Linked DNA regions of Homo sapiens: regions 1, 2, 3, 4 and 5 are each linked to region 6. Evidence: promoter capture Hi-C in 16 types of primary human blood cells and fetal thymus (Javierre and others, 2016). All regions are on one chromosome and are shown on one strand. The core of a region is centred on a gene start or on the middle of the fragment in contact, and the rest is flanking DNA. Distances in the headings are between cores, read along the strand shown. Region 1 overlaps PKP4 (plakophilin 4). Region 2 overlaps PKP4 (plakophilin 4). Region 3 overlaps PKP4 (plakophilin 4). Region 4 overlaps PKP4 (plakophilin 4). Region 5 overlaps PKP4 (plakophilin 4). Region 6 holds the start of CCDC148-AS1 (CCDC148 antisense RNA 1).

What was found. Contacts are between HindIII fragments. The CHiCAGO score rates a contact against its expected background, and 5 or more counts as called.
Region 1: a fragment that was not itself captured here is called in contact with the fragment with the promoter of CCDC148-AS1 in region 6 in 1 of 17 cell types (megakaryocytes); the score reaches 5.5 in megakaryocytes.
Region 2: a fragment that was not itself captured here is called in contact with the fragment with the promoter of CCDC148-AS1 in region 6 in 2 of 17 cell types (M2 macrophages and M1 macrophages); the score reaches 6.1 in M2 macrophages.
Region 3: a contact is called between a fragment that was not itself captured here and the fragment with the promoter of CCDC148-AS1 in region 6, in 2 of 17 cell types (endothelial precursors and M2 macrophages). The highest score is 6.6, in endothelial precursors.
Region 4: a fragment that was not itself captured here is called in contact with the fragment with the promoter of CCDC148-AS1 in region 6 in 3 of 17 cell types (endothelial precursors, M1 macrophages and megakaryocytes); the score reaches 7.6 in endothelial precursors.
Region 5: a contact is called between a fragment that was not itself captured here and the fragment with the promoter of CCDC148-AS1 in region 6, in 1 of 17 cell types (megakaryocytes). The highest score is 6.0, in megakaryocytes.

What each region holds. Positions count from the first base shown.
Region 1 is chr2:158,476,402-158,480,357 of GRCh38, reverse strand. All of the region lies in intron 1 of PKP4 (plakophilin 4), which reads right to left. Among named protein-coding and RNA genes, the nearest start is that of PKP4, 21 kb to the right of the region's middle. The HindIII fragment of the contact is 1,478 bases long and covers 762-2,239 here.
Region 2 is chr2:158,626,359-158,630,500 of GRCh38, reverse strand. All of the region lies in intron 7 of PKP4 (plakophilin 4), which reads right to left. Among named protein-coding and RNA genes, the nearest start is that of PKP4-AS1, 110 kb to the left of the region's middle. The HindIII fragment of the contact is 2,744 bases long and covers 909-3,652 here.
Region 3 is chr2:158,609,340-158,613,228 of GRCh38, reverse strand. All of the region lies in intron 4 of PKP4 (plakophilin 4), which reads right to left. Among named protein-coding and RNA genes, the nearest start is that of PKP4-AS1, 120 kb to the left of the region's middle. The HindIII fragment of the contact is 3,013 bases long and covers 664-3,676 here.
Region 4 is chr2:158,645,250-158,649,448 of GRCh38, reverse strand. All of the region lies in intron 11 of PKP4 (plakophilin 4), which reads right to left. Among named protein-coding and RNA genes, the nearest start is that of PKP4-AS1, 88 kb to the left of the region's middle. The HindIII fragment of the contact is 3,003 bases long and covers 1-2,931 here.
Region 5 is chr2:158,459,076-158,462,963 of GRCh38, reverse strand. The region is part of intron 1 of PKP4 (plakophilin 4); the gene reads right to left. Among named protein-coding and RNA genes, the nearest start is that of PKP4, 4.1 kb to the right of the region's middle. The HindIII fragment of the contact is 1,411 bases long and covers 559-1,969 here.
Region 6 is chr2:158,163,897-158,168,133 of GRCh38, reverse strand. CCDC148-AS1 (CCDC148 antisense RNA 1) reads right to left here and starts at 1,484. Exons shown (of 5, transcript NR_038850.1): 1 at 1,411-1,484. The HindIII fragment of the contact is 5,438 bases long and covers 1-1,864 here.

The sequences.
Region 1 (3,956 bases), core at 251-2,750, 310 kb before region 6:
GGCTATGGCAGGAGAATCACTTGAACCCAGGAGGCAGAGGTTGCAGTGAGCCGAGATCGCACTATTGCACTCCAGCCTGGGCTACAAGGTAAGACTCTGTCTCAATAAAATAAAATAAAAATAACTAAATAAATAAATTCCATATAGGAGGCAAATTTTGAGTTGCTAGATACTTAAAATTAAGACAAAAGGAACTATTTAACAGAAATCTTTAAAACCTGTGAGTTGGCACTGACTTATGGGTAGAAAAACACAGGCGTGTACTCCTGACCTAGGGATATGGGACAGATCTGCAATTTGGTGCTCTTTGTAAAGCAGTAGCAGTTCAGAATCAACGTCTAAGAAGATGAATCTCCCCTTTCTGATATCCTCCTCAGCTGACGAAGGATACAAACATTTAAGCCACATGAGCAGCCCCGGTTGTAGCTAGGGCAGAAGCAAAACTGTGGAACCAGTTTATGGGCAAGCCCTAGATTTCAATATTAAGTCAAGTAAACAGAGGAATCATAAATGCTTTAGATACACATTTCCATGTCATGACTTGGAAAAAGGATTGCTTGTCTGGGTCATACAGTAAACCAGAGACTAAAGAATAAATCAAGAGTTATTAATGCTTTTTATTCACCTGCCATCAATGACAGAATATAAAGCTTTTTTTTCCTTAATACAGTTGCTATTAGTTGAACTCCTTTCCAAATTGATAAAGACATCACCATGATTCTCATTTTAAGTACAAAAGTGACAGTCTGCCTATAGAAGCTTAATAAGACTATATTAAGGAAAAATAAAATTAAAAAATGTTAAATTACAAAATAAAAAATTAATTTTAAAAACTGGGCTGGGCAGTGGTTCACGCCTGTAATCCCAGCACTTTGGGAGGCTAAGGCGGGCCGATCGCTTGAGTCCAGGATTTCAAGACCAGCCTGGGCAACATGGCAAAACCCCGTCTCTACAAAACATACAAAAATTAACCGGGCATGGTGGCATATGCCTGTTGTTCCAGCTACTCGAGAGGCTTAGGTGGAAGCATCGCTTAATCCCGGGAGGTGGAGGCTGCAGTGGGCCAAGATTGTGCCACTGCACTCCAACCTGAGGGAGACCCTGTATCAAAAAAAGACAAAAAATAAATAATAATAATAAAATAAATTTAAAAATTAAATGCTGAATTTAAAAGTTAGCTAATGTTTAATATCTAAATTGTTTGAGAATTAAAAAGGTTTAAAAAACAATACTACTTAGGTAACTCCTACTAATGGAAAAATAAAAAGAATAGAAACCTCCTCGAGAATGCTGGCTTGGCAGCCTAGCCTAGAAAGGAATAGAAACAAGTCTCTCCATGGAAGTACTTAGTGGGTGGGATTTACTAATTCCAATACTGGGGAAAATGTGACAGGAAATCATAACTGTAACAAAGATTTTCCACATCTAAAAGCCCATGTTTATGGAGATACAGATATGTAGTAAAAATAAAAACATAATGAAGAGGATAAACACCAACTTCAGAATCCTTAAGCAAACTTGGCAAACAAGATTTTAAAAATATGAATAATAGTTTCATGGGCACTCCATACATTATTCTCTGTACTGTCCCATATTTAAAATGTGCCATACAAACCCTAAGCAAAAAGTTTAATTATCATTAGTGTTCATCAGTTTCATTTACAATAAAAGTTCAAATTATGTTTTTTAACAGTTACCAAAATACTATGTGGATAATTCACATTTTGCTTGTGCTTTATCACAATGAATTAAGGTTTAAGCCATCACTGATAACTTAGGCGATCTATCCAAATATTTAGAAAACTACTTAACAAAAAACGATGAGCTATTGCCAAGGCAGAGAGCGGTGGGCAGACTACAGGCTTGCTGATGATTCCATTTATCTTGATTAGGACAGCACTTAGTACGACTCTTCTAAAACATGTTAATGTCTTTAAACACAAGAATGTAAAAAACACTACTATCGGCATAGTCTAAAGGATTTACTATGAAAATCAAAACCACAGCACGTCATCTGCTTGTGAAAACCCCATTTTACAACATTCTAACTCACTGAATGGGAGAAACAAAACATACAACTTAATACAATTACTTTTAAGGTTCAGAAGTAATTTTTCTGAATGCTTCCCTAATCAAAAAAAAAATCTAAATAATAATGTCTTTAAAATCTGGGATAAAGCTATAAGCTCCTATTCAACAGCCTTACATCTTATAGCTAACATGAGGTTAACATTAAGCTTCAAACCACACCCTTTCAAAACAAAACTGCAAATTTAAGATCTCTAACCTTTGCCAGTCTATTTTAGGACACTGAAAACATTTTTTAGCCAGAACTAGAAATTTCTCTTAGAACATAAGAACTGAGGGAATAAACCTTGTCCCTGGCTTATCAGTTATATATATGAAACATTAGTACAGTCATCAATTTATTTATTGGCATACCTCAGAAGCTGGTCTATAGCTCAGTTAGCATGAGGCTTTGGACTTTTGGTTTTTTTTGAGAGATGAGTGTCTTGCTATGTTACTCAGGCTGCAGTGCAGTAGCTATTCACAGGTAGGATCACAGTGTACTGCAGCCTCGATCTCCTGAGTTCAAGTAATATTCCTGCCTCAGCCTCCCAAGTAGCGTTGATTACAGGCATGTGCCATCATGCCCCAATTTAACCATTTTTTAAACCAGGATATTGTTGCCAGGAAATTGGACTTCAGCCTAATCCCAGTTGATCAATATGACAGCAGAATTTCAGGAAACCTTACTTTAAGACTGATACTTCTTTCTTCTTTACGGGGTCTATCCCCTGATGCTTGACTTCCTGAGGTATCAGGCCATAATTACTAACTCAACGGTACAGGAGCTGATACTTTTGCTTCAGTTAAGTAGTTCATTCATTTTGGCATGGTTTCCTTCTAATTTCTTATTTGTCAAAAGCACACCTCCAGCTGAGTTGGCTAGATCATTTCCTGTTTTTTCAATTAGTAGGGGAGAGGAGAAGCAAAGTCTGATATTTCCGGCTAGATAAGCTGATGGGAAACAAGGTACCTAGCCCAGGCCTTCTGATACAGGTATGCATGTTGACCCTCAGGGACCATGTCTCCAGATCTCAAGCTCTTCCCCTGTAAAAGGAAAGAACTGCATATGGTGATCTCTAACATCTTTCCTTGGTCTAAAAGCTTGCGATTCTACAAGCACTAACCTCAGTGTCATCTTCAAATAAATGTGGTCATATCTGTGGCTTAACTTCAAGGCAGTCATAAACTAGAAGTGGAATTTCATTATTTATAAAAGCAAAAAAAAAATTGTCCAATTTTAAGGGATGAATTAACATTTACAAAGAATTCTATTATACAGGTGTTCACAGAACAAAGAATATAATTCTTTGTAAATGTTTTAAATATTTGTGTTAGAAGAGCATTTAATAGAGTAAGAATATGATGATTATTAATTCCAATTCTTTTAGATATGTACATGCAGAGGCTTAGAAAATAAAAACCTCCTGGAAGCATATAAAACAAAATGACATCAGTGGTCACCTGTGAATGCAGCTAAACTATACTCGGGTTTTACTTTCTTCTTTTGTGCTGCTCTGTATTCAAAGAGTTTTCTGCAAATGCATGGATTTCATTTACAATCAGAAAAAAAAAAAACTATTTTAAAAGTGAGATCGCCTAAACTTGAAACAGCAGGTCTCTAATCTGAGACTATTTTATTTCAAATAAAATCTTCAGGGGCTGAGTACAGTGGCTCACACCTATAATCTCAACACTTTGGGAGGCAGAGGTGGGAGGATCACTTGAGGTCAGAAGTTCAAGACTAACCTTGGCAACACAGCGAAATTCTGTCTCTAGAAAAAAATAAAAAATTAGCCAGGCAGGGTGGTGTATGCCTGTAGTCCCAGCTACTTGGGAGGCTGAGACGAGATGATCACTTGAACCCAGGAGGTCAAGGTTGCAGTGAG
Region 2 (4,142 bases), core at 1,031-3,530, 460 kb before region 6:
AACATTATTATGAAATACTATTTATCATTGTTTTTCCTTTCTTTTAAAAAAAATCAAACCCAAAAACTGTTTTTATAAGAACTCACATACCAGATTCTTGTTTACCTTCTTTCTAGTATAAAGAAAAAGTACAAAGTTAGTAGTACATGAACCTTAAATCATTTTAAATATTTTGATTCAAACTGCTAATAACTAATGTTTACACATGGGACTCATGATAAAAAGGTATACTTCAAACCCAAACATTTCAATTTCTTAAAAAGACTGAATATTTTCTATATTATGATGCTCAGAAGTTTGTGACTTCCATTATTGGTAAGTAAAATCTGTCACTTGTAAAAATATCAATTAAGGGTATATCCCAAATATAAGAGAAAGGACAAACATATCTGAAGCCAGTCAGCATATATTTGCTTTTAAAAAAATAGCAAATCATTAACAAAGTAAGTAATTATAAAAAGGTAAGATTGGCCAGGCACGGTGGCGCATGCCTGTAATTCCAGCACTTTGGGAGGCTGAGGCACGTAGATCACGAGGTCAGGAGTTCAAGACAAGCCTGGCCAAGGTGGTGAAACCCCGACTCTACTAAAAATCCAAAAATTAGCTGGGCATGGTGGCAGGCGCCTGTAATCCCAGCTGAGGCTGGGCAGAGAATTGCTTGAACCTGGGAGGCTGAGGCACAGAACTGCTTCAATCTGGGGGCGGGAGGTTGCAGTGAGCCGAGATCGCGCCACTGCACGCCAGCCTGGGCAACAGAGACAGAGTCTGTCTCAAAAAAAAAAAGATTGCTCCCATCCTGTTAGTTCAGTTAATCAAATCACAACTAAAAGCAAATGGACCTGAATAAGAGTGCTAATTACATGTTGGTTAGTGAGGAGAGGCAAGAAAGTTAACACATGCATAAAGCTTCTAAAGTGAATGATTATTACCTACCCTGGACAGCAATGTGACATGGAAAGAAACTAAACGAATCAATGTGGGTTTTAGCTACTGGCTCCCCTCTTGCTATAACGAAGACCACAGGTTTATACAATCTTATAACTGGGAGATTATCCAGCCAAACCTCATTTCAAAACCGAGGAAACAGAGTCCAAAAGGAAATGTGATTCGCCCCCATTAGAGAGCTACTTCCTTGCCGAGCTGACAGGAAAGCACAGGTCAGTGTTCTGTCATTATACACCCAATACTGGACACAGCTATCCCTCATGGAGCAACGGCACATGGTGAGGAAAAGTCTGAACTCCACAGAGCCCTCCACAAACACCAGGTTAAAGAGGAAGGTAAGCACACCAAGGAGGGGGCCATGGAAACCAACTTTAAAGATGACACTGTGATTGCTATTGCAAAATTCCCTTTTGAGGATTTCAGCTTTTTAGGCACTGGCCAATTTCTCATTATTATTATCATTTTTAGCAGAGTCTAAGCTCTATTTCTTTATGGAGCCCATGAATACCTTAGACAAAAGTGCACAGTTTTTGTTAACAGTGACATAAAGCAGACAGGTGAATGTACCTAGTCCTCGATAATCTTATCATTATGAGGTGCTATTGTAACACCCAACAGAGCCACAGACACTCACGACTCAGTGCAAGACACTGAGGATCATTTACACTTGGACAGAGCCAAGCCGAAGACTGGATGCTTCTGACATCGGTTGAGTCCTCATGTTCCCACTACTGCACAGGGATGTGAAATAAGACAAAGCATTCTGCACCACGATTACAATGTTATATTCTCATTTTACAAGTATCTGGCTGGATTCGTCACTGGAATCCATGCAATCTGAAAGGTTTTGTAAGCACAGACTATGATTTCATGAGAAAGGTAACAAAATGAGCTTTTTGCATTTAGAAATATAAAAAATAACCAGCAGATGTTCACTCGTTATAGGATCATTAGTAAATTGGAATTACTATTATGTGATAGGCTATAATGGGAAATAAAAGACTTAGAACTTTAGTGGGATGTAGCACTTTCTTGATATTAAGAATCCTTCTGAATGACATAATAAATAGTAGTAAACTATTTTTGTTTACCCGCTCGTGTGTTTAAAAACACAAGTACACAGTCCTATAGATTAGCATTTTAAAAAATTACAGTAAATAGCCTCTGTAGATTAAGTAAAATGAATATGTGTAGACAGCTCACTATAATTTACTATTATTGAAACTGGAATTCAAATAATTATGTTCTATAATTGGTATTAGAAATAATTTTTTCAGGGCTGGGTGTGGTGGCTCACACCCGTAATCCCAGCACTTTGGGAGGCTGAGGCGGGCAGATCACGAGGTCAAGAGATCGAGAACATCCTGGCCAACATGGTGAAAACCCGTCTCTACTAAAAATACAAAAATTAGCCGTGCATGGTGGCAGGCGCCTGTAGTCCCAGCTACTCGGGAGGCTGAGGCAGAAGAATCGCTTGAACCCGGGAGGCGGAAGTTGCAGTGAGCCGAGAGCGTGCCACTGTACTCCAGCCTGGTGACAGAGCGAAACTCCGTCTCAAAAAAAAATAAAAAAATAAAAATAAATAAAAATAAATAAAAAATAATTTTTTCAGAAGCATTTCCACTGATTAATTTTTAATAACATTACTTCCCCTTCCAAATAATGGAAAACACTGATACGCCACTGCATTATTTATCCAACCAATACTTTCTATTTGCAATTCCACAAACATATTAGTTTAGCTATTATTACGGTGATTCCATGTGATTAAAAATATTTATATTTATGGCATTAGAAATAAACATAAATTTATCTTTCAAAGATCAATTCTTTATCTCCTCAAAAGTTTTCTTTACATGCCATGATTATTCTGAAATGAACATTTTAGAGTATATATATATATATTTCTGTAGTTTGTATCATTTAAATTATGATCATCAAATACCCAAGTCCCTGAATGTAGTACAAAACATTGCTTATCAATTAGCAGGCTATTAGTCCTTTGAAATCAAGAACACTTTGCTTCTTGAGAACACTGCAGTATTTCTAGAAAAAAATCACTGAGAGGCTGGGCCTAAAAAATAGACATTATATATATTTTCCCCCCAAGACATAAAGTCTAATTTTACCTGCATTGTCAGAGAAACAGACTGTTTAAACCAGAGGAAATGAGTCCTCTTAGGGTTAAATATGGAGACAATAATTTATATGCTGGCTTCCTTCCTCCAGTCTCCTCTCTACTCTCTTACAAGCAGAGATTTCTACATAGCTGTTCTATACACACGGGGGAATATGGAAGTCCTCAGAACTATTTATTTTCTAAGATTTCCTTGGGAGGTAGAATTTCATAAATGATTCCTACATCATTTTGCTGCATACTTTTCAGAGGCATTTCAGAAAATATCTAAGTCAAGCACACTTCTTGGATAGATGAATGAAAAAGAGGTGGTTTCTCCACTAAGAATTTCTTTGAGCTCAAAAATCAAGTTCAATATAAATTCTCCAGGCAAAATTATTCAATCACAAAAATCTCAAAAAGGCTTAAATTTTCTTAGAAGACATAAAAAAGATACTAATTTTACTATGTAAGAATGTTAAACAGTTTTGTAAATTAAAACCAAAATGAAATAAAAAGAAGTGACAAAATGGAAAAAATACTTGAGAAGCATATTACGAGGTGCTAGCTTATCTCTAGTAAAAAAAAGCTTTCACGAATTATAAAAATAGACAAAAGAACTTGTAGTTTCACAAAATGAAATAAAGTCGTTGATGAACAGATTAAATCTTCAACCTCAGTCATAACTCAATAAAAGCCCTTAAAAACAATGAGGTACAGCTTTTTACCTATCAGATTGGCAAAGATGAAAAACTTGGAATATGCAGCACTAGTGCAGTGTAGACAAGGTATAGACAAACAGGCACTCAAACTACTGGCAGAAATATAAATCCGTGTGTAACCTTCTTAGAAGGCAATTCTACGTAATATCTCTCAAAGTAAAAATACACATATATTTTGATGCAGCAATTCTACTGGATCCCAGTTACCCTAGTACTTATGTGAAATATGCAGGGAGAACAATGTATGTACTACATCATCTCTAACAGCTAAACATAACAAACAACCTAACTGTCCATTAGGAGGAAAATGCAAATAAATTATGATATATCTATAAAAAATGGGTCCCATGCATCTATTA
Region 3 (3,889 bases), core at 921-3,420, 440 kb before region 6:
GTTCTCAAACTGTGCACACTGGAGTCACCTGGGGACTCGTTAAACCCCACTGACGCCTGGTTCCCAACTCAGACTTTCGAACTAAATTGTGTGGGGGTGATGCCTGGGCGTCAAGATTTTAGTAGCTCTGCAGGTGACTCTGAAGTATAGCAGTGTGTAGGAACCTCTGGAGTGAGATGTTGGCACCCACAATTATATCCAGTGGTGATTTTTTAAGTTTGTTTTTTGCTTGATTTGGTAGTGGTTGTTGCATTTTTCATGATAGAAAAATGTATCTGATCATTTTGAGCCAGCTATGAAGACAGAAGAAAGCCAAACTGACAGGAAACAGTATGATACTTTTACTATATTCTAAGGTCATGCTGATCTCCAATCTCCATGAGAACGAGTTAATTAGCATGATGGTCCGGGGTATGCTCAAGTTTCCATGGAGTGTTATGATTTAATGAATAGTTAATAATGATATTTAAAAATTATCTTACTTTGTTCAATCTGTTCCTGTTTTATGATATAGAGAAATTTGAAACAAATGTTTTTGTTAAAGCCTAGTAACTTATTAAAATTTTAAATAATCATGAAGATTTACATTCCTGTACTCTGGTAACATAGTAAGTGTAGATAGGACTACCAGGTGCTATCAGTAGGAGCATAAATTGTTAAGCTTTCTGGTGGGCAAACTGACAATATTTGTCAAAATTAAAATGTATACACCCTTGTCCAGGAAGTTTCAGTTACAGAAATCCTATCAGAGACACTCATATATGTGCAGAAAGAATCTTCTCATTGTCTGTCAAAGTACAAAACTGGAAAAAACAAAATGTTCACTGATAAGAAACTGGTTATATAAATTTTCAAACGATGAATACTATTTAGCCATTAAAAAGAAATAGGGCTTTATATACTGATATAGAAACACATCCATTACTTTGTAATGTTAGGGGAAAAACTTAAAAGTCACAGAATAACGTAGAGTGTATCTTCATTTGTGTTAAACCAAAACAAACAACTCAAATGTGTGTGGATACTTAGACATACATACAAACACAGTTAACAGTCTGGGGTGTTTCATTATTCCAGATTTTTTCCTATACATTATGTGTGTGTGTGTGTGTGCAGTTGTGTAGGTGTGTTGGTCATGGTATGGGAACATGTTGGAATGAAGGAAATTTCTACCTTTTACTCAGATTCTTCCAGGCTGTTTTTTTTTTTTTAAAGAAGCATATCTTATTTTCATCTTAAAACAGTAAGTTAAGAAGAGCTTTTATAGTGGCAATCAGGAAGCTATAGCACTGCAGTTGGTAAAAAGGCAGTCAAGACTGTGTGGCTAAATGGGCCTGTAGAAAATAAGGGAGAGAAACTTGTACTCTACAGCTGATTTTAAAAGAAATTCTTATCATCCTTATATTTAGAAGAGAAACAGGAAGAAATATATGATAAAGTTTTGTCATTTGTAAAGTTTATGGCTATAATAAATGACGGCATCCAAAATCCTCAATAATAGTCCTTTATACATGATTGCTGATCTAATATTTTGTTTATGAACATGTACAATACAACACTCACTTCCTACTGTATCTCCTTTATAAATTCAGTACATTTCTACTGAGGCATAAAGTGTTTCAATTTAAGTCAACTTCTTATCTCATGATGTGCTGATGAATTTTTGTGTTGTAAATTACTTGCACCAGATGGAGGAAAAAAGAAAAGATAAATTGACTTAGGACTACTTTCTCATTTGTCATTTATCTTCGGTATTGATGTTTTTTTATTTTTATTTTTTAAAGCTCATCCCAGTGGAAGAAACTTGTATCTATACATTTTAGAAACAAAATTTAAATACATAAACAAAATGCACAGCCTAGCTCCTACAGTCTTAAATTTAGTAGTAAACATTAACTAATGCCAGTATTTCACACAGTAATGATTTAAATGAATAGTATGTTAAAATCATACCACTTCAATACCTGTTATACAATAAATGAATGCAGCACTGTGAAGTTATAGAATCAGTTTTAAACTTCCTATTTTACTATGGTCTTTTTTCTTCCCTTCCATATTTACTGTCAAACATCAAAACTCCTAACTGCACAGAATTGTTACTATTTTCTCTCCTGTTCATCCAAATCTATTAACCCCTCAGTGCCTTCTGAGTCAACCAGAAAATTTCTCTCACTTGTTGTTTTGGTAGAGATTCCAATCTTTTTTGGCCTCTAATTTCTTACCCATGAGCACCAATTCTTTATCACCTACGTAACATCCATCAATTTCTCGAACACTTTCTTTTTCTAGGAACACAGCAGTGTTAAAAAGAATGAGCTTGGCTGGCTGGCTGGTGGGGACAGAGCAGCACATTCCAGCCCTGTAAGACGGACTGCTCCTGGTCTAATGTGCTAGGAAGAGCTGGGGCGGAGGGAGGCTGGATTCTGAGGCCGATTCTCCTCCCCTGCATTTTACACAGATCTACTCAAGTTGGCAACCACCTAAACTCTAGTAATTTTTTTTTCTCGCAAACAGAAAAACTGTGATATTGTGACTTGCAGCAAAATTCACTTCATGGAATGTGACTGGGGGACCTAAGTAACAATCAATGACTGTTTTGACAAAAAAACTTCAATCCATGGCTTCAACCTATAGATTCTTTCTGATGGGTAGCATATACTGTGTGTAGCTATTTTTATTATTGAGTTGGTGTTTTTCTTTAAAAAGAGGTACGTTCAAAGGATTTAAAGAAAAAGATTCTGTATAGCATTTTCGCTCATGAAGAATTATGATTATACATGCTTCTCACTTTCATCACCCTTTACCTATTATTCTAGTATGTATTTTCTGTGATTTTGATGTTTATTTTTTATTGTATTATATACGTTCTTACAAGTTACCTCAAATTTTGATGGCACACAGAGATTGTATATTTCGAGATGTGAAGCAGTGAACAATGGAAAAACTGACACACTAATATTATGGAAACAGAAGGGAGCGCTAACATAACATTCCCTCGGAAATGTTTCAGCAGAATACACAAGGTTATAAGACATGCAAGAAAAGACAAAGCTGAAACATAAATAAACTGCTCCTCATAAAAAAACACAAAAGATGTGCATTTATATTTTTAGAATGCAAATATGTAACACTGGTAAGCTAGAGGGTACAGAATAATGAAGAGAAAGGGCAAAAGTCAAGATAATAATAAAGCATAAATGCTCCAAAACAACTTTATTACTTCTAGGGAAGAAGTTTAAAGACCTGAGAAAATAAAAATGTTTGGCAGAATGGGCAGCTCTTCCTCGTTCTTTGGGAAGTATCTTTCTCAGCTCCCATACTTCAGAAACTTGGGCTTTTTGTTTTCAAATGTCCTACCCTCCTTAACTTCTGCCCCCAGCCCCTCAACAATAAACACACAAACAAGCAAGCTAGAGTCTCCTGAATCTAATGAAATGAGAGTGAAATGAAAATCTCTTCTGCCTAGGGCATCCTAAGCTCTTCCTTAGAAAATGATGCTGCAGTAGGTTAGCTATTTAAAAATCCAATTCAAAGGCTGGTTCCAGTTTACCACATTTCAACAGAATATAACATCCTGAAAACACCTGAGTAAGCAGGGATCGCTCCTAAGCAGTGATCAAACCATTGCATCTCTAACAATCCACCTATTGCTGAAAGGCTTTTAAAGAGCTAAGCTTTTCAAGTCAAATTTGTAAAACTTAAGAAAAAAGGTAGAGAAAGTGTCTGAAAGTAAACATGCAAAGTATAAAAATAAATGAGGATAAATGAGGACCTTCAATCCTAAATCCTTTTGTGAAATTTTGTATAGGAAACCAAAAAACGAATAAAGAGGTTGCTTTTGTCAAGACCCAGCCAAAGACTAAGTGGACTGATGGTCTTTTAAATATTT
Region 4 (4,199 bases), core at 181-2,680, 480 kb before region 6:
CCTGGGTAAAATTCAGAGAGTAGTTTATTGTGGGGCTTTTTTTCTTTTCCCTTTTTGGTGGTAATCTTAAAGAACAAGGGAAATAACATTTGTACCCTCCAGATTTAGCTCCTGTTCAGCCCTTCTCAGTGGCCAGGGTAGGCAGGGGAAGGGTCAGGGAAGAAACACCTCCAGCCTGGACATCAGGAACTCAGCCTGGAGACTTGCCTGCTCAACCTTCCTGGACTTCGGTTTCTAATCTGTAATAACAGGGGTAGACAGGAGATTTCTTTAGGGTTCTTTCCAGTTCAAAGTTCTCTACCAATTGAGAATTGGTCTATTCATAATAGACATTTTTTGTCTTCTTAGTAATTAAACTTTTAAAAATTTGTCATTTCTCATTACACATTTTCAGGGTTTGAAATGTTCAGTGAATAAGGGAATGTTTCTGTTGTGATTGTTTCATTTATTTTTTTGAGACAGAGTCTCTGTCGCCCAGGCTGGAGTGCAGTGGCGCGATGTCGACTCGCTGCAACATCCGCCTTTCAGGCTCAAGCGATTTTCCTGCCTCAGACTCTCTAGTAGCTGGATTACAGGCATGTGCCACCACACCTGGCTAATTTTTGTATTTTTAGTAGAGATGGGGTTTCACCATGTTGGCCTGGCTGGTCTTGAACTCCTGACCTCGAGTGATTTGCCTTCCTTGGCCTCCCAAAGTGTGGGGATTACAGGTGTGAGCCACTGCACCCAGCTATGTTTTATAAAGTGGACCAAGTGACATGGATCCTTACTGATTTGGGCTGGGAATTGGGAGGAGATGTTGCTAGATTTCTAAAAATGACCCACATAGCTTCTAACAGCCCTAGTGGCCCATAACAGTAGGACTGACTCCTCTCTGGACCAGAGCATAAATGACCTGTTTTGAAGGCATATTAATTAGGCTAAGGGGACATGCTTCGTAAACTGTTTTCATCCTGTAACGGCAAGTAATCGTCCAAAAGGCATGTCCACTAAGCTCCTGCTTTTTATAGTATATAAGACTAATTCTTGCCAGACTGTTCTGCCCTTTGTTAAACCTTAGCCTGGCCCATCTACCCTTCCTTAGTTACAACTATTATTTTCTTATTAATTTATCATCGAATTAAAAATATGGAGCTAATGATCAGGAAAACAATACACTTCATTTCATGTTCTGCAGTGTCTGGAATCCATTGCTGGCATCCAAACATTTCACAATAAACAGTGGAAATATTTTACTTAGCTATATGGATGAATAATCACTTACTAAATTGGAAGAAATGTACATGTAGCAGTCATATGAACAAAGTCTATTATTACCGAAGAACAAAGGCTACTTTTTGGTATTTAAGAGGGTAATAGAAGTGTGACAGTTGGGGACATCTGGTACGTACATTAAAAAGCAGGCCTCCAGATTTGTGCAATATCTTCAATGTCTATAGTTTTAAAAAATGATGTTTTCAGGAGGCTCAATAACTTGAAACTCATGTTTCCTAGCTTAGAAACACTATTTAATTATTTTGAACAAATGAGTTCAACATATCTTTTTTAGTGACAAGATGTTCCCATCTGTCCTCCATACTTTGTGGCCTAGCAGACATTCATTTTATAACCAAACTGGGGAACAACCATACTTCATCCAGCTTTCAAGTTTAAGTACAACAACAGCAAAAAATACTTTTGGAATAAAAGAAAAATTACCCTAAGCACTCACATATATCAGCACTTACTAAAAGAAAAGCTCATTAGGTTTCAACTGGAAAATGTTCAACACAATGAGGAAAACACAAGAATCATGTTACATACTAGAGAACCATTTTAATTAACAATGACAGCCATATTGTCTTGGGAAAATACATTTGAAGAAAAGTCCTTTTTTCCCTCTGAAAATAAAGATGTGGCCAAAAATATAGGCCCTGGGCAGTTATTGTGTTTAAAGCAAAGGCAAGGCATCTTTATAAAAAACAGCTAAAATTTCTCCACTTAAGTACAGTAAAAACTGCCAAACTGAAACAAAGGGAACTAGAAAAAAAGACTGGATTAATAACTGGGTTGAATTACTTAATATTAAGAATCAAAGAATTCCTAGTTTCAAGGGCATAGTAGTTTCTTCAAATTATATAATATTTGGAACACAATGGTTCACTGTATTTTAACATCTCATGATCCTAAGTTGACTATAATTTTCACTTAGGAATGTGTGGACCGTACCTACAAAGGCCAAGCACCGTGCAAGGCTAGCCATGGTATTTGTGAATGATACTAGCAGAACACTAAAATCTAAGGCTAATGTTCTGTTTTCAAAGGGGACTTTATAGGAGATGGGCACCTGATGGGGAATGCTGGGTGACACGGTCACACAGCACCTTCAGCCTGAGTTCAGAGCAGACGTGCTTTAACGACAGTTCAGACTGGGGGCTTACTTCCTTGGTTAGGAGTGCTGGTGGCTGGATCTAGGGTGGAACTGGTCTTTTTGTAGGGCCATTCCTATGCAAAAATGACCTCCTGAGGGTCTGTATTTTTTGCCTTTTCAAGTTATATCAGATAACTTCTTGCTGCTTTCTGGATAACCTTGTTGTCCAGACTTAACCCCACCAGGTAATGAGCTTCCTGTGCTGTGGGTTCATGCATGTGATGGCGGCTACTTTGTATGGAAACTGTACAGGAGATTCATGCACTGGATGGATGACTGAACAAAATGAGTTCTGAGGTCTCCCCCAACCCTGTGCTACAATTAAAGACGGCTTGAGCATTTGATGTGAGGAAGATTTAATGAAAGAAGAAAGAAGAGTTCAAGCATTTTTTGATGTTTTCATGCTTTAATATGTATCAAGGATCAATCACCCTTAAAATATTACTGAACATCAGTTAAGATTGGTACCACTAAATTGTAGGACTGGGAAATGTGAGCAATTTTGCTGTCTCTATAAAGCTTAGACTATAAATACATGTACACACACAAAAAAAGCAACTATGCTAGATTTATATTGTGACTTGTTTCATGTTAGTTAGACAATGTTTAGGTATAAATCAAACACAGCTGCCATTTGGCTTTTTGAACTGGGAACTCATTTCTGAAGTCTTCTGGTCCAACCTACTTTACTTATGGCAATTGCATGAAGTGTTTACCCACTGACCACTCTCATTTCAATGTTTTGAAGAAAACATTTGATAATCAGTCCACATGTCAAAATAAAGGATTAGTGGTAACAGTATATAGTTATAAAGCAATTCTTAATGTCTCCTACTCTATAAGTATGGCAAAAAATTGTTTCTTATAGCCTAAAAGCTACCGGCAGATATTTTCAAGACAAATATCAGAGGTACTTCTTAGTTTTACATTAGAAGTGATTGATATGATCTATTAGGAAAACAGCTCTTTCTGAATTAGAAAACACTTATATCCTCTTTTCAAGGCCAAGGTCCATGTCTTAAAACATCTTATGTTCTCTATAAAATAAGGAGGAAATCATCTAAATTAGCACTCAATTCCAGAGTGTGCTCCAGGTAACCTAGTACATAAAAGCCCTTGGTAGTAAAGTCGGGCTCTACTTAAAGTAATTTTGACTTATTTTTAAATGTAAACAAAAAAAGAGCACACAATCATGTACTTTTCTTCCTGTTTAACACTAAATCTTACAAATTCCTTGAGCTCAGCTCAGGAAAGGCACTGTAATAGTCTCTCCCAAGGAAAAAACTCAAACAGAAATTCAGAAAAGACTCATTCCTCCTATGAGAGGACAGAAGAGCAGGAAAAAGCTTCACATTAAGGATGTAAGGATCGAGTCATGATGAATCTGGCTAGTTAAATTTGAGGAGAAGCTGTGTTTTCCATGTCATTTGTCCCTGGATCGCCACTGCTCTCTCAGGGAGTAGCGCACACGATGGACTGCAGCCCTCCTGGCTGCACGGTGTTACTATGGGAAGACAACTGGACATGACACAGGAAGTTCAAAGTGATGGGAAGAGAAACATCAGACAAAGCAGGAAAGCACTCATGTAATGCAAATGATTCTGTCTCCTCTATGCCTCCCTAACAGTAGGCTCAGGGTAAATTTGTGGGCGTAATCACAGTGACTGTGTTGACTTCTAGGATGAACATAGCTACATTTTTATTTTTTCTTAATTCTGTTTAGCTTGCTCTAATTTTCATTTTATATCTACATGTACACGTAAACAAAAATAATTATAATTTGTTTTTT
Region 5 (3,888 bases), core at 15-2,514, 300 kb before region 6:
CATCATAAAAGCACCACAATGTAAAAATAATTATTTCAATGTATTAAGCGCTGGCTCTGAACCAGCTCCTGTTGTAAGCACTTTACATGTATTAATTCATTTAATCTCCCCAACAACCATATGAAGTGGGTACTTTTATCACTCCATCCTACAGATGAGCAAAACGAGGACCACAGAGATTATACAATCTGCCAGGTTACACAGCCAGCAAGTTGCAGTGCCAGAATTGGACCCTGACAGTAAGGCTGCTAATCATGACACCTCACTACCTTAATGACACTTCATGAGCCTCACTGAGTATGAAGGTGAAATCCCAAGCACTTTCCCTGGCCAAAACTACCATATGTAATCTCAGACTAGGGTAGAGGCAGACAGCAAGACTTTGAAAACATGTGCTTCATCCCTTCCCCTCACTTCCCAAAATGATATTGTTTTAAAACAAAACAATTAAAAATGAATGTGAAGAAGGTTCAAAAGTCTCAAAAGAGAAATTCAACTTCCTTGTTGCCATGATTTGAGGTACAAGGGGAAACAGGGCTGATTATGTATATTCAAGCTTGGAAAAGTTTTTTGTTCTTTTTTTTTTCTTAAGAAAAATTTTTAAAAACCACTGTGAACTTCAGGAATCTTGAGCTAAAATATAACTTAGATCAATATAATCCAAATTGTATTTTTAAAAGGAGGAAGCTATCATCCAAACATTAAATGGTTTGTCAAGGTAATAAGGTTTAATGGCAGATCTCCTAATTTCTGATTTGGGATGCTTTTTACTTCCCTCATGCTTGCAATTCAGACACAGCTTGCAATGGGCCAAAACTTCAGATACCACCTAGCCAGTGTTTCAAAAGTCTATTTGTAAACTGATTGTGGGTTTCTATGAAAAACTGCATTCCAAGTTTCGGGCCAGGCCCCAAAAGCCTGCATAGTACCCTGATAGCCTCACTTCAAATACATATTTTACCTAACCTTCATATACAGTATCATTTTTGTGTCAAACCCCATACCTGTTTTAAATTCAACCTGGAATACAGGACACCAATGTCTACATTTTATGTACATGGTCTCAGGCCATAAGGAGCTTCCTCTGCCTTGCCAAGCTCACAGATGTGGTGATGGCATAGTGTGTGTGTGTTGTGGCAGGGTGGTGGGGGCAGTGTAGGGGCACAGATGAAGGAAGAGCAGTACTAACACCATTAAATATTTGCAACTCACCCAATTTATATTTAGTGGAGAGGAAACTATAGAAGTCAAACATGCCTCAGATGTCAAAGAAAGGTGCTTCCCCTGGCCCCCTCCCTCCCTACCCTATATTGTGAGTTCTGGATTTTGTGAAGACTGTATTATTCTATATCTAGCTACCTGGATTGGCACCCACCCAGTCACCAGGCATTATTCCATTCAGGAAAAATGCTTTGCAATCACATGACTTACAATAACTCAGACACTTCCACATTTTAATTTATATATTTGGTAGTAATAAAATCTCACAATACAATCCCTAACAACATTTTATCAGCTGCAATGAATCATTATATATGAGTCATAATAAACTATAATGTTATCAAGACTATGAATAATAAAATGATCAGTGATATAGCCAACATTTATTGGTATATCAAACAAATCTGAATTATGAAAAGGAAAAACAACAGGTCAATGATGAAGAAAATGTCTGCAACATTCCTAAGTTTAATTGAAGATCACCATCATGTAACATCCCCAATTTAGTAATGGTAACATAGCACACTAAATTAAGATAATTCCACTGAATTATTAAAGTGACAAGGTAAGAAATATTTGAATGTTATGCAACTTCTGAACTGAAACCAGCAAGTACATGAATTACTGTTCTTGGCAACTTAGAGCCTGATTACCTTACCTTGAAATAACCCTGTTATTTCTTATCACTGAGCATCGAACTGACCTGCTGACTGCTATCATCACTTCCATTGATGTAAGAATGAAAGCTTACATCCACGTATCTTAAAAGTTTTCCTTCTTTTCTCTATTTGCAGCTGTCTGTAGTGTTGTCTGGCTGTGAAATAGTTATTTAATTCTCCAAACATACCTAGTCCTCTGGTGTTATGTTTCAGATTCTTCTTCCCCCTTCAGTGCAGGAAGGGCACTACAGAATCATTTCACACATTGAAGGAGTAACTATCTCCCTGTACACTTGAAGGCGTGAAGGCAAACTTCCCAAACTGACATACAATACCATAGGCATTTATGCCCTAAAATAACCCTATAGTAACCTCTATTTTACCTTCCATTTAAGAATGAAGATATGATGTCCATTTTAGAATTAAGCAAGGTAGGGAATTACTGCTCAATTGAAACAGAAAGAAAAACACATTAGATTACAGAGCATTCTCAAAATACCTTAATATTTCAAAAGAGTCAGGTAAGAGACTAGACTTACCTGATGGTTGGCATCATCCAGGGTATGAATATTATTTAAATTGATCCCTGGGTAACAGCATGGAAATTACTAAGGTCAAAAATTGCCAATAATTGCATTTTCAAAAATTAAAGCGAGTTTCAAATTTTTACATTAAATTTACTTTGCCTATTTACAAGAAAAGGAAGAAAACTGCGATTCTAATTTAAACCTAATCCAAATACTCAAGGTCATAGAAATGCTAAAATTTTTATTAAACTGAATTTGGTAGTAGTTTCTTTAAATTCATATCATGTCAGAACTAGTCACAAAATTAGATTTGATTTATTCAGCTTATAAATGCATTACTGCTGCAATAATGTATATAATTTTACTTTCTGGCTGAATACTAGCTGCCCCTAGTTTCTTCTTCCCTTGTTTTCCATCAATACTCTGCTCCCTTATCTCCCTCCAAAAACAATACAGGTAAAAATTAAAATAATTGGATATTTAGCTTTCCCAACTTAGACTCTTCAGTATAATACATAAGACACCAGATGCAGCACCCTCTCCTTACATAATAGTAGGGGGTGGGGAGGGAATGCACTTTGGTCAAAATACAATTTCGGTTATTTTCAATTGTGTAGGATCACTAGTTGAAAAACTTCCACTCTTTGAATATCTGTAACAAATAGAAAGCATTTCTAACTGAAAGGTTACCTTTACCTGAAGCAGGCAAAACTATCTGCACAGCCAATCGTGTGTGTGTGTGTCGTGTGTGTGTGTGTGTGTGTGTGATCCATACATCTGAACAGGGTTTTCAATTTCTAATGCGGCAGGGAAACTAAATTTGCTTTTACTTCCCAATCTTGACATCAAGTCAAAAAAGCACGGGTTAAGCATGGGTTAAACACTGCTGTAATATGATACTGTTACATAATAAAAGTTTCCTGTTGGCATTTACAAACACCTCCCAATATCCTCCACAGTGTTACTGGACACAAATTAAACCTCTAAATTAGAAGATTCACTGATTATGCACATAGCTGAAAAACAACGTAGCAACCAAAACATAAACGTTTCTGAGTGCAAAATATTTTTTTCTATTTTTTTTCCTTTCTGTTGAGTCCTTAACTAAAGGCTCCTATTTAATAGTTTTCAATGTCCATGATCTACACAAAGTAGGTGTTGGAAGAAAGCTGATTGGTCAGACAACTGACTTATTATTTTACTGAATCTGACATAAAATAACCAGGTGCAAAGAGGTTTATCATAAATGCAACCTGCAAAGCAAATTGTGTCAAATAAAAACACACATATGATGCTTTTCAACACCCAGAAACACTTATTTCAGACATTAGTTGTTCTCGTTTTCATGTTGCCATTTTCCATAACTGTTTCACAGGCACCAAAACGAAGATACTCCTACAGCAATATACTGCATTCAAGAAGAGAAGCATTCTTCTAGTTTCTCTTTAAAAATAAAAAGAATCTAAGCTCAATTCTAGCGA
Region 6 (4,237 bases), core at 235-2,734:
CCCCTCCATCCATTTTCCCTGTTTGCATTTTATTTATTGAAGAAACAAAGAAATTTATATGCAGAATTCCCTATGCTGGATTTTGTTGACTTTATCTTTTTGGTGTACTAATAGTTTAATGTATTCCTCTCTCCTTTGTTCTTTGTGTTTGCCATAAATTGGTAGTTGACCCAGAGGCTTTATCAGACATAAGACTCAGGTCGTTCTCTTCTTTTCTTTTTTCCAAGGCTACTTTATTGTGGTGGTGTGTTCCCCCAGCAGGATATGCATGTTATCGGATGGAACTTCTTTTTGCAATTTTTGCTGCCACTAATTCTCAATGCCTAAGTCCATTAATTACTTACAGATTGCATGGTAGAGATATATTCAAATTCAATCACTCTTTCCTTTGTTACTGGAAAAATTACATAAAGAAAAAAATTTTCCTCTTCTGGTATTTGATAGTATAAGAGGAGTAGGCTAAGTGTTTGAGTTTTTTTTTTAACCTAACAGTTTTACAAATAATGAATTTATTCTTTGACATCCTGCAAAGGTGATCAATTTTGTTGTATCTTTATGAAGTTATGAATTTAAATGTATTTGATCATTTACTCTATTAAAGTGTTATCCTTATTGATGCTCCATTTATTCCCCCTTTGCCTAATGGAAACCTTTTCAGTTTGGCTTATGAATTCTATTCAGATAGCCTAATAGACTTGGTAACTTCCTTGCTATTCCAGTTATCTATTGCTATGCAGTAAAACTTAGTGGTTCAAACTTCATTTTTAAAAATTATTTCTCATGTTTCTATGAGTCGACTGGGCTCTACTGGGTAGTTCTCACTTGGGGCCTATATTAATTTCCTATCACTGCTGTAACAAATTACCACAAATTTAATGGTTTAAACAATGTAAATCTATCTTATAGTTTTGGAAGGTCAAAAATCAGAATTTAATCTCATTGGGCTAAAATCACAGTGTTGACAGGGCTGTATTCCTTTCTCAGGGCTCTAGGAGATAATCGGTTTCTTTGCCTTCTCCAGCTTCTAGAAGCTGCCTATAGTCCTTAGCTCATGCTGTCTTTCTTTTATCTTCAAAGCTAGCAGTGGCAGGCCTAATCCTTCTGACATCCCAGCACTCCACACTCCTCTTTTGCCTCCCTCTTCCACTGCTCAGAACTCTTGTGATCACATTAAGCCCACTCTGATAATTCAGAATAATCTCCCTATTTTAAGGTCAGGTGATTAGCGATCAGAATACCCTTTGCCATGTAACATAACATTCACAGATTATGGAGATTAGGAAATTGACATCTTTGGGAGACATTTTCTGCCTACCACGGGGTATATTATAAATTTGTAGTCAATTGCTAGTTGAGGACGTAGTCATCCAAAAGCTCAACTTGGCTGAATGACCAAGAGGACTCACTTACCTGACTGGCAGTTGATGCTGGTTGTTGGCTGGCAGCTCATTTGAGGTTGTCAATGGGACCGACCACCTACACATGACTTCTCAAGATGGCTTGGCTTTTCATAGAATGGTAGCTGGGTTCCAAGATAGAATTTTCCAAGAGCAAACATTCTAAGAGGTATAAAATGCAAGCTGCTAGACCAGTTAAGATCTACTGCTGGAACTGGGATAGGGTCTTTTCCTCCATACTCTTTTCATCAAAGCAGTCATAGAACTCTCCCAGATTAAAAAAGGCTGAGAAAAAGTCCACTTATTGATGGCAAGGTCACATTGGAAAAAAGTATGTGAAATAGGAAATATTTTTGCAGCCACTTTTTGAAATCTGTCATGTTTGTTATCGGGCATAACAAGATGTTTTAAGCTCATTTTGAATATTTCTTGCTCTGACCTGGAACTAACCTTTTCTCTGAGAAGCTTTGGTTCTTTTTATTGGAAAATCGTATTTCAAAACCAAAATTTGGAGACAAAGAATACACATTGCTACTAGGTTGATCTTCTATTCTAGACCTTTTCAATGAGCATGGTTAGAAAATACACACACACACACACACACACACACACACACTCCCATACATATGCATATACATACACATATACATATACATGTACAGACATATATACAAAACAGGCCAAGTGCAGTGGCTCACACCTGTAATCCCAGCACTTTGGGAGGCCAAGGCAGGTGGATCGCTTGAGGCTAGAAGTTCAAGACCAGCATGGCCAACATGGTGAAACCCTGTCTCTACTAAAAATATGAAAATTAATAAGGTGTGGTCGAGAGCGCCTGTAATTCCAGCTATTCAGTAGGCTGAGGCACAAGAATCACTTGAACCCAGGAGGCAGAGGGTGCAGTGAGACGAAATCGTGCCACTGCACTCCAGCCTAGGTGAGAGAACAAGACTCCGCCTCAAAAACAAACAAAAAAAACCCAACAAATCCAGACATACGCTTATATTATCTAAAGATAAAATTTTTTTTTATTTATTCTGTTACTTCAAATTCCATAGGATTTTCACTTGATATCTTGTATGTTACTTTTGTATTTTCTTTTTTCCTTACTGACAATTCTGGTGCCCAATTACACACGGATGTTAGAATATGACATAATTACTCATTTACATTATCCACACAAAAGTCTTAGAATAAAATACCAATATAATAAAAACAAAAATAATAAAATTTGGGGTTATTATGCCTTTTCTATTCTTTTTCTTTTTGTTATCTATATTGCGAGGGACTGTGTAGACATTATACACACTCTCTTTTATCCATGATTGAATCTTATTCTATTAGTAAATATATATTTACCAATACTGCCAGTTTTTAATGTCAATTTCTCTCTTGTCATTTAGGTTGTCTGAAGCCTGTTTTCCAGAAGATTATTTAGGAATTAGTCATGGAAGCAATATTTTCTGGGTCCTTGAATGTTAATAACAGGTTGATGGTCGTCTTTATAGTTGAAAATAAATTTTTCCTGGGTCTAAGATACTTTATTTACATTTTCTTTTCTTAGCATAAAATGTCAAAGGGCTGGCTATAACATGGTTTTCTTTCCCTAAGAATCACTTGATCTTTTTGCCTAATTAGAGTTTTTTTCACTTCCTTTATAATATAGCAGTTTTACTGGACTTTGTGTTTGTCATTCTGGGTTAATATACTTAGTAAATTATATTCCCTTTCACAATATAAATTCAATTTTATTTCAGGAATTTTGTAAAATTATAATTTTTAGTGTTTGTTATGTTTCCTTTTTTCCCCAGGACTGTTATTATGCTATTATGCTATGTTGGATCTTCTTTGTCTGTAGTCTTTATTTGTCACTTTGTTTTGAATTCTTTTAATCTCTTTCTTCATTTTTAAAAACTTTTTTTATTTGGAAATAACTTTATAGAATAGCCGCAAGAATAAAATTGTTGTAACTTTACCCCAGATTCTCCCATTGTTAACATTTTATTCAACTTTTAAATTGCTTTTGTGTTCTTCTTTAATTTGATTCATTTCTACAGCCTTTGTTGTCTTTCAAGACATTGACTTTTTATCGTGATAAATATACATAATATAAAATTTACTATTTTAACCATTTTTAAGCATACAGTTAAGTGGCATTAAGTATTTTCACATTGTTGTGCAACAATCACCCCTATTCATCTTCAGAACTTTTTCATCATCTCAACCTGAAACTCTGAACCCATTAAACAAAAACTATACACCTCCTCCCCTCAGCCTCTGGTAACCACTATTCTAATTTTTTTCTCTATGAATTTGTCTATTCTAGGTACTTCATATAAGCAGAATCATATAATACTTGTCCTTTTATGTGTGACTTATTTCACTTACCATAATGTTTTCAAGGTTCATCCATGTTGTGGAATGTATCAGAATTTCATTCCTTTTTAAGGCTGAAAACATCCCATTGTGTGTGTGTATATATATATATATAAATTTTTTTTATCTATTCATCTGTCAAAGGACATTTGGATTGTTTTCACCTTTTGGCTATAATAACAGTGCTATAAACATTGATGTACAAATATCTGTTCAAACCACTACTTTTAATTATTTTGAGAATATACTCAAGTGAAATTGGTAAATGATATGGTAATTTTATGTTTAAGATTTTGAGGAACTGCCATGCTATTTTCCACAGTGGCTTTGCCATTTTACATTCCCATTAGCAATGCACAAGAGTTCCAATTTATCTATATCCTTGCTGGCACTTGTTATTTTCTGTTTTGTTTGTTTGTTTGTTTTTTTATCATAGCCATTTCAATGGTGTGAATTGGTATCTC